2 separate regions of the Homo sapiens genome follow, and region 2 is linked to region 1. The links are contacts of gene promoters, found by promoter capture Hi-C in human tissues and cell types (Jung and others, 2019). All regions are on one chromosome and are shown on one strand. The core of a region is centred on a gene start or on the middle of the fragment in contact, and the rest is flanking DNA. Distances in the headings are between cores, read along the strand shown. Region 1 holds the start of KCNB2 (potassium voltage-gated channel subfamily B member 2). Region 2 overlaps KCNB2 (potassium voltage-gated channel subfamily B member 2).

Region 1 (7,396 bases), core at 3,553-6,052:
ATCTGTTAAGTAACCATATTTTAATTTCTATTGAAATATTCATGTTATGTTTCACAGGGAAAAAAATGGGGACATGCATAAAAAATTATATTTCAGAACTAATAATTTTTAAAAAACAAATAATTCTAAAAGTAGCTAAATTAAACAAATTTGTAATACTATGTTCAAAATAATTCACAAACTTGTTTTTAAAGAACCTGAAAATGAAAATAAACTGACCAATGAGATCATCTGCATCAGCCAGCCTCATTTTCTGTGGTCGATGTAAAGCTAGTAGTTTCTAATGTGTTAGCATTCTGATAAAATCCCACCTACCTTATAAAAATCTAAACTACCTTCTTATTTCAAATTCATGTTGAAAATATGGGGGTTTTCTCTTACTTTTGGCCTTTTTCAAGCATCCTCCTGTACTAATAAGCAGGGCATCCTTTGGTGAGTGAGAAGATACAGTTCCAAATAAATCTAGGAACTGCAAGCATTTTTTCTTGTTCTGCCTGGGCTCGTTTTTAACACTTCTGAATATCATAGTGGTTAAGTGAAGCCAGAGCACCTAGGTTCAAGCTTGACTTTACCATTTATTTCCTATATGACTTTAGACAAGTTAAGAAAAGTCTCTGAACATTAGTTTTCATATCTATATAATAAAGGGCATTTCTGACAGCTACACCATAGGGTGGTTGTAAGAATGAAAATAATATTTGTAAAATGCTTAAAACAGTATGTGCCTCAAGTAAGTGCTATAATAATAACTTTATTTTATATACGTCAATAAAATAAATAGTATTACTTATAATCATAATACTCTACATTTAAAATTAAATATTTTAATGAAATTATTATTACTATTATTTTTATTGTTTTATAACAACTGCCAAATGCATAGTTTGTGAAAATTTTCATGATCCTCTTCATGGATGTGTCTTAATTAATTTGCTAAGTATAAAATTATTAAGTGCATTTCTGTATAAAAGAGATCTTTCATTTTGAACTATAACTGATTTTTCAATTAGTTTTTCAAGTTTTTTTCCCCCTAAAATATTCTTGGGAGCAGGGCCTAGCTTCTATATTTTTTACATTTGTTATATTCTATTCAAGCACTCTTCTCCTTATATATATATATTTAGTAAGTAATAAATGAATTAATGAATGAGTCAATGAGTGGCTATGGGACATCAAATCAGATAGCAAAGATAGTTAAAATTCAACCTATAGGAATACGCACTTTTTAAGATAATATAAGAGGGTTTGGCTTACACAAGTCAAGGGATTACTTGTCTCACACACATGGCTTTCTGCCTCACAACCCGTACTTGCAGTAAAGAGTTGGTGGGAATACATATTTAAGAAGCACAAGGAGGAAATAAGCAATGAAACAGAATGGCCCACAGATCTAGGCTATAAAGATACTTGTAGAATGTGACTAAAAAATCTAATGCTGCTCTGCTCTATAAAGTTTATTCTATCACTTGGGGAGTAACAAGGCCATAATCTCTAGCCTTAAAAAAAACAAACAACAACAACAACAATAACAAAACTCTGGGCTAAAAAAGAAATCACACATAATGCCTTTGTATTGTCCATCTGTCTGAAGCTTCTGTGAAAATAATAGAAATCTCGATTTTATGCAAAATCAATCTGAAGAATATAAACAAATCTTAAACAATTACATTTTGAAATAAGCAGAATATCTTACCTTTATATATTTTCCTTAAAATATGCATGAGATTTCCTATCAACGTTAAGAATCTTCCTTTGGAATTAGTCTTTAAGAGATAGCAAGTTTTAAAGGAACTAATTAGTTCTTTATGAAGAAAAAAATGCATTAGGGCAGAATGAAATATATCTTATAGGTTTCCTAGATTTGGGTCTACTTTCACAATATGTTATACACATATACTGATCTCTCTACCATATAAGAATGCCAGATACGCATTCAAGAAAAAATATTTTTCAACGTTTAACGAAGATGCTCTGCAGACTTGCACATTTGTAGACATGCAGGCAGGTATATAAAACACGTGGACAGACACACTCTTAAGTTGAGAAACGTGACCGAAACCATATCCTGCCATTTCGTTATTCTAGCAATCTCACTTTTATTATCATAGTGAGTGTTAAAAAGGCAGGAAGTTGCCCTATTGCCTAAACTATGAAGTTTTAAAAGCCAAACAGAAGGGAATGGATAAAGTAATAATTTCTACTAACTCCTCTGAATATTCAGTAAATATGTATGCTTGGAAAGTTGAATTGTTGGACTTGGAGAACAGTGAAATGCAAAATAGTTTCAACGGATGCATGGATTGATTCTATTTGGAAAAACAGAAGAAAAGAAAAGAGAGGCAATAGAAAAGATGTGAGATGAGAACTCTCAAAGTGGCAGGCAGGAGAGTGATTTTTCTGGAGTCGATACGTGTGGGTTTGTGTATGAGGGAGATTTGAGAACACTAACATGGAGAGGGAAAGGTGAAGGTTAAAGGAGCAAGAAAACAAACAGAACTGCCAAGTTCTTTCTCCAAAAGTCTGAGTAGTGCCAGAAAAGGAAGAAGGGTACATTATACAGAATTCTATTTGTGATAAACAATTGTTCTAAACCTTAAGGCAAGAGGGAGGGGATTATGGTATTTACTTTGTGGAAGCATATTAACTCTTCTAGGTGATAAGGATACTTTTCCTTCAGTGGGGAAGAAAGTTATTTCTACGTTGGACCTTCAGTATTTTCAGAGTCCATGCAATCACACAAGTAAGCACTTTATCCATGCCCTTAAATTAAAAACACCACCTCAAACGGCAATTAAATGCGCATACACATGTGTAATGTGCCAAATTACTAAACTGTTTGAGTTAATTTAAGAACAAAGAACTCTCTAGCCTAGATGTCTAGTCTAGATGGGTTTTATTCATGTATTACGTTAAGCTTTGGACAACTTTATATTTATTGACACACACACACACATGCCCCTAAAGAGTGAAATAGATAAAACAAAACTTTATTTTCTTGATATGTAACTTTAGAATGTTACCCTCTTTTACAAAATCTTTCCTGTAAGTTATTCAGCACTGACAGGTAAGACAAGATTTTTGACCGAAATCTATCTCTCGCTTGTCCTATGAAATGTAATATATTGATTGCTGTTTATTGGTAAATAAACCAAGAGACTTCCGACCCACACTATACTACACATTTAACAATAACAATAAAATGCTTACTCTTCCTTTCCCTCAGTTTCAAAAAATCAGATTCCCAACAAAATAAAAAAATTAATCAATGCAAAAATGAAAATGTGATACGATACTTAAAATCTTGACATTACTACACAACTTGATTAGAAGGAATGTTGAACCTGCGCGGAATTAACCCAGTGTATGTGCATACTAAATTTTTTTCAATGTAATCTTGTATGCATTATTACTTATTGTTGAAACACATGTGCAGTCATAAATGTTGCATAAATGGCATGTTTGTGCATATTGCACACTGACAGTTTTTATGAATGAATACGCATAAATGCTCACAACTCGAGAAAATGGATGGCGGCATACTATTTTGAAGAGGATCATTAAGCATCGGGAGCAAATGATGAGGCAAATGGTCGATGTCTTTTGGTGCTATTCAGGGCAAACGTATTCCCAAGTCCCCTAGCAGAGTGTGTTGGAAACAGCCATGAAGCTCTTTCCTTAGAGACCCGTTCTCCCTCTCAGGAATCGTGCTACAGAACGGAGACCGCGCACCGCTTGAAGAATAAAATGCACGCATGTCTCTGTGTTCTGAGGATCGTTCATACATCAGAGACATCACACTCCCTAAATCCAGTCCCACAAGTGTGTGCATGTGAGTGTGGCATTTACCAACAAATGGACGGAAGGCAACAAGAGCTCGGCTCCTAGAAATAACATCCCCATCCCTTCCCAGTCAGGCTGCTGGGAAGCTTTTCAGGGGCTAATACTTGAGCGCCTTCCCCACCGGGAAGGAGCCTGACATTAAAAACCCTCTCAGGGCTAAGTCAGCTTTGTGTGTAAGTCCACTGGGCGCCATATGGCAGTTTCCAATTCCTTTAGCAACTCAAGTCTGGCTAGGCTGCCGCGATGATTCATTCTTAAAGGAAGACCCCCTTCGGGGAGCAGCAATGCCCCCGCCACTTACCTAGCTCCCACAGACCCCGCTCAGCAGGCGGCACGGGCTCGGGCACCACAAAGGGCTGTGGGATTCCCCGCTCCCTCCGGGGAGCCTCTCCCCGCGACGATCCCCTTCGCCAATGACCTGTCGCTGGAAATCCCCCTCCCCTCCACAGAGAGGAGGGTCTCCCCGGCTGGCTGGAGCTCCCGGCGTGCTTTCCCCCTGTCTTTACATCCCTGACTCTGGTTCACGGTCTCTAGTAGGAAGGCTCAGAGGAAAGGCGGCGGGAGGAAGCTAAGGCATCCTTTAAAAGAACAATAATCTTCATCGATCTTCAACCCCTTCCCCACACGGGGTCCCCATCCCCCTGCCGCCGCCACAGCCACCCAGACAAGAGAGGGCTGGAACAGAAGAGGAAAAATCGAGCGGGGCTGAGCTCGCCGCGCGGAAGGAGCCAGAAAGCGAGCCGCGCCAGCCCGGGAGTTGCCGCTCGCTGGGGCTGCCCGAGGCGCAGCGGCGGCGGCGGCCGCGGGGGCGGAGGGCGGAGGGCGGAGGGCGGTGGGTGCTTGGTGGGTGTGTGTCTGTGGCGGAGCAGGGTAGAGGCTGCGCGCGGGAGGCTAGGCGGGGCGCTCTGGGGCGCCGCTCCCCCGCCCCGCAGCTAGCCGGCCCGGCGCGCACACAGGGCTGCGGCCACCCCAGCCTCCCGCTCCGCCTCCTCCCGCGCTCCGCGCACCCGCGGGCTGGAGCGGCCGCCGCCTTCTCTTCCTCCTCCCCCTCCCCCTCTTCCTCCTCAGCGCTCCCGGCTGTCAAGGTGGGCGGCGGGGCGGGATGGCTGGGCTGCGCGAGCCGGCAGCGCACCGCCGGGGACGCCGGGGCTCTGCCTCGCGGCGCCGGAGCTGTGCGCTCGGCCGGGGACAGCGCTCTGGTGCCCAGGGCGCGGCTGGGGCGCGGGCAGGCACCGCCCACACCTCGGCGGGGTGCCTCCCTCAGCTTCCGCGCGCCAGCCACTCCTGCTGCCCCGGGCCTGGCTCCACACCCACCTGCTTCGCTCTGCAGCTCCCACCCGGCTGCACTGGACTAGAGGGACGCAGCCCCCGCGGCTGCCGCGCACCCGGGGCCGGGAAAGCCCCGGGAGGCCCCGCCGCGACGCGCTCCGGCGGCTTCGCGGGATTCCCTCGGCCCTTCTGCTTCCAACTGCAGGGCTGTCCTCCCGCCCGCCCACAGCAGGACCCTGACCCTGGGCTGACTGCTCGACCCCGGGGAACTGGGGCGAAGACAGATGGCTCCTGAGTGGTGGTGCCAGGATTATTTTCCTGGAGAAAGAGCTGCGGAGATAACTAGGAGCGCAGATAAGATCTGACTTTCCTCGCGGCACCTGCAGCCCCGCTCGCTCGGGGGCCGTCCCTAGCCCCAAGTGACCCGGCTTTCCTGGGTTTGAGGGTAAAGCCGGGTCCGTGGCAACCTTAACCCTTGCTTCTCACGGGGGCGCTCTTCATACCCTTCTTTCTTTCCTTTGCCTATCAACTTACCAGCTGGAAAACTATGCCAAGTTACCCCTTGGCGAGGCCGCAGGGTGAACACTTAGACCTGTACCCACTTCCAGGGCTCGGTAAAGACAATGAACTTGAATAATAACACTGAGCCTTACATATTTCTGACCCCAGTGCTCCTTCACAGGCACGAAATAGAGACAGCTGGCACGGTTACAGGGGCTTTCAGGAAAACAAAGTAGCTTAAAACACCTTTTAGAAACGAACGCAGGCCGTGACAAGTCTATTTAAAGCTGGGACTCCTGAGTTTCTATAGACCAAGAAGGATGGCTGTTGAGGAAGTTCCAAGTACACTGTTTTATTTATATTTATTTATTTATTTATTTATTTATTTTTTCCTTGTATCTTCTGTTTATTGAGTGTTTTTTTAAATTTTATTATTATTATACTTTTAAGTTTTAGGGTACATGTGGGTTTGTTACATATGTATACATGTGCCATGTTGGTGTGCTGCACCCATTAACTCGTCATTTAGCATTAGGTATATCTCCTAATGCTATCCCTCCCCCCTCCCCCCACCCCACAACAGTCCCCGGTGTGTGATATTCCCCTTCCTGTGTCCATGTGTTCTCATTGTTCAATTCCCACCTAGGAGTGAGAACATGCGGTGTTTGGTTTTCTGTCCTTGCGATAGTTTGCTGAGAATGATGATTTCCAGTTTCATCCATATCCCTACAAAGGACATGAACTCATCATTTTTTATGGCTGCATAGTATTCCATGGTGTATATGTGCCACATTTTCTTAATCCAGTCTATCATTGTTGGAACCAAGTACACTGTTTTAAATATACTCCATGTCATCCTTGCCTTAGTTTTAGCCCTGATATGCCCTGGAATGCGCTATCCTCTCTAATTCTCTGCACCTTGACTTCCCACCTCGCTATGGGGAGGTGGCCTTACTTTGTACTGAGGGTTTTTGGTTTTGTGGTGGGTTTTTGTTTTGTTTTGGTTGTTGTTGTTGTTTTGAGGTGTCAGATGTTGGGCGGGATATTTAGCATGGAGGTTGGCCCTTCTGATGTTGTCACCCTCCAGCAAGAAACTGCCCTGCCCTTTGCTCTTCTTGGGGTTTCTCAATTATGAACACTAGGAAGAGGACACCCAGATTCCCAAACTCTTATCCCCAACTCTGGCCTGGTCCCAAGCTCCAGCTCTGCATTTCCAGGGACCTGCAGGCAGTCCATTCCCTCCCGCCCATCCTTTCCACCCTCCCACACAGTTTAAATACTTTCTGCCAATTGCTTTTCCTCACGCAAAACCCTGACCATATCATTTCCCTACTCACAAATATTCCCTGGTGTCCCATTTCCTACCAGACAGCATCTGCCTACCTCTGTGCCATTGCATGCGAGTATCTGGGATACCCTTCTCCAGGTCTTACGTCCAAAGCATTACAGTCCTGGAAGAGTCACTTCAAACTCTGCCTCTTCCATGACTTCTCCCTTTTGGTGTCCGTCGCACAATGTCCCAGCAATCTTTTTAAGACATATATCACCTTCCACTTCCTATACCATGTATTTACTGTGTACATTTCTTAACATTTTAAATTCTGGGTTCCTCCAGAAACAATTCCATGTCCCTTTATGGTTTGCATTCTTTACGTCTAACCCAAAGCCACACATGTGAGAGATACCTATTCATCTAACAAAGATTTATTTTGTAGTTTTTATCAGTCCCTCAATATTTGTTAATTGAATGAAATTTACAAAATAGTTTTAGGCTAGAATTCCTCAA
Region 2 (7,500 bases), core at 1,540-4,039, 87 kb before region 1:
TCTAGACAGAACTAGTGCTCAACACATGTTATTAACAACCATAACTGCAATTCAACAAGAGCTAGCTCTATGAACACCTTCTGTACACTGCAATAGAAATGTTAGAGTCATTTAGCTGCATGTAACACATTGCACATATAAGCTGCCCAAATATATTCTGAGTGTGATTGATTACATATTAATTTCAAGAAAACCTTTAAGTCTATTCTATAGAATGTGGCCTTAGATTTGTGGTTTCCCAAATACAGTACAGGCTCCTGGTCCCCCAAGTGACTGGCAGTTCAAATTTGCTGGACACTGGGCCTAGGGTGGACTGTGGCCTGTGTATTCTGGGCATTCTGTGGCCCGTGTACCTGGGCATTCTGGGGCTACTTATAAAGCCAGGTAGCTTGTGTGGAAATTCAAGCCCTTCTTAGCTGTCTTGTCTGGACACTAGAACTAACATACATGTTGTTCATGAATGTGACTTTGATCTTCTGAAAATGCTGAATGAATCCTAGGTTTTCTTTTAGACAATGGTCTTTCTATAGAAATCAAATCAATAAGCTGATTTTGAAATTGCTTTTCTTATTTTGGTGACTTTTGGCAGTTATGTATTTAAGCTTTTCAGTATCTTTTTTTGTTTTTTTGAAATAGTGAGATATACTGTATCTCACTATTGCATTATCATGGGACTGCAAAGTTCTGATTCTAAAGCTTCAGCCCATGGAGAACTCGTGTTCTACAGCTGACAACCCCTGTCCTCCCATTCTTTCCTTGAATAAGATCACCTGGTAAGTCAATGCTGAGATATGTCCAGCATTATTTTTCCTCCTTTGGACCAGAAAAGAAATGCTCATTTTTCTGGGTGCAGTGGCTCATGCCCGCAATCCCAGCACTTTGAGAAGCCGAGGCAGAAAGATCACTTGAGCCCAAGCGTTCAAGACCAGCCTGGGCAATAAAGTGAGACCCTGTCTCTAGAAAAAATACAAAAATAACCTGGGCATGGTCACACACGCCTGTAGTCTCAGCTACTTAGGAGGCTGAGGTGGGAGGATCACCCGAGCCCAGGAGGTCAAGGCTGCTGTGAGCTGTGATTGCGCCACTGCACTCCAGCCTGGGTGACAGAATGAGACTCTGTCTCAAAAAATAATAATAAAAGTTAAAAATAAATATTTTAAGTAAATTTTTCTTTCCCATTTTGGGATCACTGAGGTTTTTACTTTGAAATTATAATTGAGATGAATTAAAGCTTCTAAAATGTCTATGTTTTAGATTTATTGAAATACAAGCTCCTCAGAACAGGGACTTCATTTTGTTCACTGCTCCATTTCTAATTCCTCAAAATGTGTCTGGAATACTGAGGGTGTTTGTATTAGTTTCCTGTTTCTATATAACAAATTACCACAAACTCAGTGACTTAAAACAACAGAGGCCTGGCATCTCACAGCTTCTGCGAGTCAGGAGTCTGGACACGGCTTCACTGGGTCTCCCGCTAGTGTCTCACCAGGCTGCTATAAAGGTGTCTGTTGGTTGGTGCTGGGGTCTCCTATGGGGCTTGACTGGGAAAGGATCTGCTTTTGTTGGTGGAATTCAGTTCCTAATGTATGTGATCTTGAGGACTTCTATTTCTCACTAGCTGTTGGCTGGAGGCTTCCCTCAGCTCTAAGAGGCCACCCTCAGCTCCTGGCTAGGTGGGCTCCCAACACGGGCAGCCCACAGCATGGCAGCTGGCATCTTCAAAGCCAGCAAGGAGAGGCTCCAGCAGGAGGGGCACTGCGATGTTATGTGATATAACCAAGTACATCCCACTGCCTTTGCCCTACTCTGTTGTTTTTAAGGAAGTCACAGGCCCCATCCACATTTGAACACCAGGAGGTGGGGGTCATGGGGACCGCCATATCAATCTGCCTACTGCAATGCTCAATATGATGTGTTGACCAAACAAATGAATGCAGACTCACAGTATCTTGTTAGTGTGATCAGGTAGGGTTAATCTAAATTTTGAGTCCATTATTCAATTATAATTAGCATATTTTCCATTCCTTGTTCAATGAAAAAAAAAACCCATATCTCTGAGCAAAAACCATTTGCTAAAAGCCATCTCAGGCTTATGAAGAAGGTTTGAGAGATATCACAATGTACCACAGAACCATAATGTTATCTTTTTTGTTGTTGAAGAAAGTACTTCCCCAAGCACAAAAGGTTGAAATCCTGTGGTAGGCTAAAATCTGTCAGGAAAAAGGCACTTAATGTGTGCTTCTTCTTCGAGGATGTTTTCCCAGTTTTCTGAACATATAGATAATTGGAGAAGTTTTCTACCCGAACTATCCAATTCCATAGCTTTGACTGAGACACTAGCACAGAAAGCCAAGCATGCATGAGGCAGAATGAAGATATTTAAGAACTTAGCATATATTTGTAAAATAGCTTATGTTTAAGTAATTTACTAATATGAACATTATAGAGATTTGATTGATGTAAACAGAAGAGCAGAGTGAGTAGAGAAATGAGGAGGAGGCATGGCTCCTAATTCCGTCTCTAGTAACGATTTGTAGATAAGCTACCTACCAGCATAAGCACTCTTAACTAATGAACACATGCTTATGCACCGATCAGGAAGCACTCAAGCATCTGGGGGGACATGAAAGAAAGGGGTGATCATGAGGGAACTAAGAAAGCTGGAGCCAGAAAGGACATTTGTACCAATGAGAGCCTGTCTTTGGGGCCAGCCTCAGTGGGTCTGATGCTTCACAACTGTGATTTGGGGCACCTAACTTCTTTATAAATCCATCTTCTCATGTATTAAATAAGGAGAGTAAAGACCTACCTGTAGTGGTTGTCATGAGAATTAATTAACCGAATACAGGTGAAGCTTTTTGAATATGACCAGGAAGACAAATGTGACAAATGAGTTATCTTTTTAATCTGGTCAAGGCCTCCTGTGTGCTGGGAGCCTGGTTCCTCTAAACTAGTTCACTAGGTTGTGACTCATATTTTCCCCTGATAACCTATCCACCTTCCTTCTATTTGTAAAACCTTTTTCAATTCTTTATTGTCCCTGAAATGTGTCCAGATGGTTTGGGTTCCAAAGTCTTCTATCAGAACAAACCAGAAACTGCAGATCACAGCCTTTGCTTTTCAATAAGTGACACTTGGTTTTCTTCCCCACTCTGTCCTTGATGCTGCTTCCTTGGGCTCAGAGGTATCTCCCTCTAATCGTCTCCAACCCTCCCCTTCAAAGCTGGAGTTAAGTCTCTGTACTCCTGGAATCAAAACAACTCCAGAAAGGCAAATAGCAAGAAGTGCCCCTAAATTGTGACAGGCATCGCTACAATTTAAGTTGATAGAAGGAATTTATTTGCTTCCTCCAGCTTTGGGGATAACTTTCACCCAATCAATACAGCCAGAGAAAGTTAACCTCAACACTGATTGACTCTGACTGACTGCAACAGAAGTCTTTACAACAGAAATGCTGCAGTGAAATGGCAGTATAATTAACACTCAGTCAATGAAGACACACCAAAAATGATATTTGTAAACCTTCAGTTTCCTTCTTATTGTATTCTGATTTTGGTAAAATCAGAATTTGGGGCCCACTCCCTTGTTTTACAGATAGAGAAATTTGAGCTCAAGTAGATGGTGTCTTGAATAAAACCACATGGCAAGTTCTAGCAGGAGCTGGAACAGATCCCAAACAGAAGTGCTGGTGTCTGGGGGCTCTCAGAGCTTTACTACGGGACTTTCTTACAGGTAACTAAGATGCATGGAGCATTTTAGTAGATAGGGGTCGGAGATAAACCCACTTCAAACCAAATTCTACTGAATACAGGTTATGTTTTAGTTAACACTGTTATATAGACCAGAACAATTAAACAATAAGCTCTCTTAACAGATTCTTACATAATCCTATGGCATAAACCCTAGACTAACTTTCAAAGAAGGTGCACAGTAGAGTTTAATTATCTAGATTATTCACATCCTTCTTCATTCCATTCTTTTTTTTAATTTACCTAAAGTATTCAGATTAATTAACCATTTTTGGAAGCTTGACACAGAAAAAGGGCTTTCATCCCCATCTCACTGTGCAGCTGTACGAAGATGTTTATTCCATCAAGGTTGATCATGATATTCATATCACATTAATTCAGCTGTTCTCTATGATGGCAGATTATGTTAATACCATGTTTGAATGTCTCCTATTATTGGAGGGTCAAGAAATGCTCCAATTAGTCTCAATACTCTTGGATTACAGTGAAAGACTGTGTAGATGTTATTGAGAAGACTAGTTACAGAGGTAGGCTTTTCTTCTTCTGAAATCACTTATACGCCACTTAAAATGTCTATAACCTATTGAAACTATGCAAACATTTTGATTCCTATTTTTCAGAACAAAAAAAGCCTCAGAAAAGTCAAACACTGTCTATTTTCTGTGTACATTCCATAAGGATTAGACTGTTATCTTATTTATCAATTTATCCCCAACATTTCCCAGAGGGCTTGGTAACATCATAGATACTCATGAAATATACACTAATTGACAAAACGATTTTTTAAAAATTGATTATAGATAATACAAACATATTTTAAAGGGCAAACTGTTAACCATATATAATTTGTCTGAGGGTCTAATAGAGCAGGTGAAATAACATGAAATAGGAAAATGTTGCCTATGCTTGAGGTTACATGAATACTACAAACACTTATGAGATGTATGAAGACCAGCTTTCAACATTAAACTGGGAGACAACTTTTCAAAATCAGCTTCAAAGGATAGTGAAATCATGCCACAGATTTCATTAGATCCTTATTTTACTTGTGTAATTCATTGAGAATTTTAGTCTAAATTTTATTAAAACTGTGGTGTTAACGCCAGATTATTTCTGTAAAAAGAAAATGACTGCTAATTAAAATGAGTGCAGGCTCAAGGGGATGGATAGCCCATTCTCCATGATGTGATTATCACACACTGCATGCCTGTATCCAAACATATCATGTACCCTATAACTATATACACCTACTATGTACCCACGAACATTAAAAATAAAAAATTATAAATAAATAATTAAAAATGAGTGCAGGGAAATGTTCAAGTCAAGTGATGTCATTACTATGGTATAAAAAGACAAAACAAACCAACTTTCTGGGAAGCAAGAGAAACAACCATTAGCTGAACTGATGATGGTGTCAAGTTGTTATACTCCATCCCATCTTTCAAGCTTTTTGAGAAAACAGATCTGGAAGCTGGGATCTGGACTGGGGGATTTGATCCTTCTGCGGATCTTGACTACCACGTCCTCCACATATACCACCAGATGGCAGAAGCTTCTTGGTATGTATGGGAGGTCGTTACTGACACGTTGGGATTGAGTCACTTGGAACAAATAAAAATATACAGGTCAGAAAGGGTTAAGAGATGAAATGTACATATGTTAGCAGGATTCTTTTAAAAACACATTCCCATAAACTTGTGATCTTATTTCTTGTATCAAAAGTGAAGACTCATATAAACAGAATCACTTTTATATTAATATTTCCTATTCTGGAATATTCACGAACCAGATGGTTAGGTTTCACAGAAAAACAAAAAATTCTCAGAAAGACAAAAGTCCAGAGACCACATTCCCTTGTGTCTAAGGGCCTAAAACGTAATCCAATGAATTAATGTATCTAAAACGTAGTACTGGCCAGACACAGTGGCTCATGCCTGTAATCCCCACACTTTGGGAGGCCGAGGCGGGTGGATCAACTGAGGTCAGGAGTTTGAGACCAGCCTGGCCAACGTGGTGAAACCCCGTCTCTACTAAAAACACGAAATTAGCCAGGTGTGGTAGCAGGCACCTGTAATCTCAGCTACTCGGGAGGCTGAGGCAGGAGAATCACTTGAACCTGGGAGGCAGAGGTTGCAGTGAGCCAAGGTCGCACCACTGCACTCCAGCCTGGGCAACAAGAGCGAAACTCCATCTCAAAAAAATAAAATAAAATAAAATAAAATACAGTACTGGAAGGCCTTCCAACTTTGGACAACAATGTTGCTAAAGGGAAAGGCTTCAGTTAGAAAGGGACAGTGGGCTTTATCACAGACAAGATTCAGAGGGCACTGAAATGTCTCCCTCTCCTGCACATGTTAGTTCATTTGTATCCTTTAGTTCCAGTAATTTAAGATCTATTAACTACTTCTAGATAGCACTAACTGATATGGTTGATCTTGCAGAAGAGGGACCCAGGTTTGAATCAGCATGTGCTATAAAACGGCCTCTTCTTTTCAGGAGGTGTCTTTGCAGTAGATTCTGGAGAAACAATGATCAGGCTCTCTGGCAGAACATCTAAACTGCCTGTTGGATTTCTGTCTTCCTTGGCAACATTATATTTTAACTGTTTCCCTGTAGAGTAACCAGAAACTTTTGTTTCTCTAAAGTAGTGCTATGTGATGGAAATAGACTAACTTTTTTGGAAGAGGTATTTTTAAAAGTAGATGTAAACAGGTGAAATTAATTTTAATAATATATTTCATTCACCACAGTATATTCAAAATATTATTGCAGCATGCAATCAGTATAAGAATTTATAAATGAACTATTTCCTTTTTTGTTGTAAGTCTTTAAAACAAATTTGCTGTGTATTTCACACTTATAGCACATATTAATTCAGACTAGCTACATTTGAAGAGTTCAGTAGTTACCATATTGGATAGTTACCACAGCTCTAAGGTATCAACATCTCCAATGAATAATTAAATCCTTTAATAAATCATATCAACCAAATGGTTCTGAAACTTTTTACTGTTACAGTTTTGAAGATTATTTTGTTACCTGAAGCTAACTGACCATGTCTGTACACTGTGAAATATTGAGAAACTCTTTTTTTGTGGATGATAAGATTTAGATAAAATAAAATTTGAAGATAATAAAATAAAATTCTTGAAATGAAAATTAGTAAATAAGGGGCTTGCAGGGCACTTCTTCCTTGAGGAGTTCCGTGTGAAGTGGCAGGAGTGGCAGCTATGGAGCCCCAGGAGGAGAAAGAGGTGCAGGTTGCTGTGTGATTAAAAAAAAAAAAAATGGAGGTAATCCCATTTACCTCATACCCATACTCAAAATCTCATACCCATAGTATGAGGTGAACCTACGAATTAGAGATTTTACACCACCTTTTAGAATGCAACAAGCTCCAGGACAGGGATGTCTACCTGGTAATACATGACTTGAAACAGGCAGAAAGCAAGTGAATATAAATCAGAAGCCAAGCCTCTTCAAGACCTTCTCATGGAGAGTGTGAACTTTTCCCCTGCCAATCTCTCCAGCACTGGTTCCAGGTATCTGAATGCTTTGGTTGACAGCACATCGCCCTTGAAACTAAAGATACCTCACTAGCTAGGTTTATCCCTGCAGTGAATAATTCGACATCTGATCTTTCAAACAAAATCCCAAACTGAAGAAATCAAGATTGAATGGGAAAATCTTGAAAAAAAACTAACTGCAACATTAATATTGGAAAAATGTCAAAAAGAGGATCTCAAGA

Evidence for each region. The method cuts DNA at HindIII sites, captures the fragments that hold promoters and counts their contacts. A contact is called where the count stands out against the background at its distance.
Region 2: a contact is called between a fragment that was not itself captured here and the fragment with the promoter of KCNB2 in region 1, in 3 of the 25 tissues and cell types used here (H1 embryonic stem cells, dorsolateral prefrontal cortex and hippocampus).

The regions. Positions count from the first base shown.
Region 1 is chr8:72,534,631-72,542,026 of GRCh38, reverse strand. KCNB2 (potassium voltage-gated channel subfamily B member 2) reads right to left here and starts at 4,802. Exons shown (of 3, transcript NM_004770.3): 1 at 4,142-4,802. RefSeq lists silencers at 4,743-4,792, 4,953-5,012, 5,023-5,072, 5,083-5,212. The HindIII fragment of the contact is 6,044 bases long and covers 3,421-7,396 here.
Region 2 is chr8:72,619,072-72,626,571 of GRCh38, reverse strand. The region is part of intron 2 of KCNB2 (potassium voltage-gated channel subfamily B member 2); the gene reads right to left. It also overlaps the pseudogene HAUS1P3. Among named protein-coding and RNA genes, the nearest start is that of KCNB2, 86 kb to the right of the region's middle. The HindIII fragment of the contact is 3,649 bases long and covers 965-4,613 here.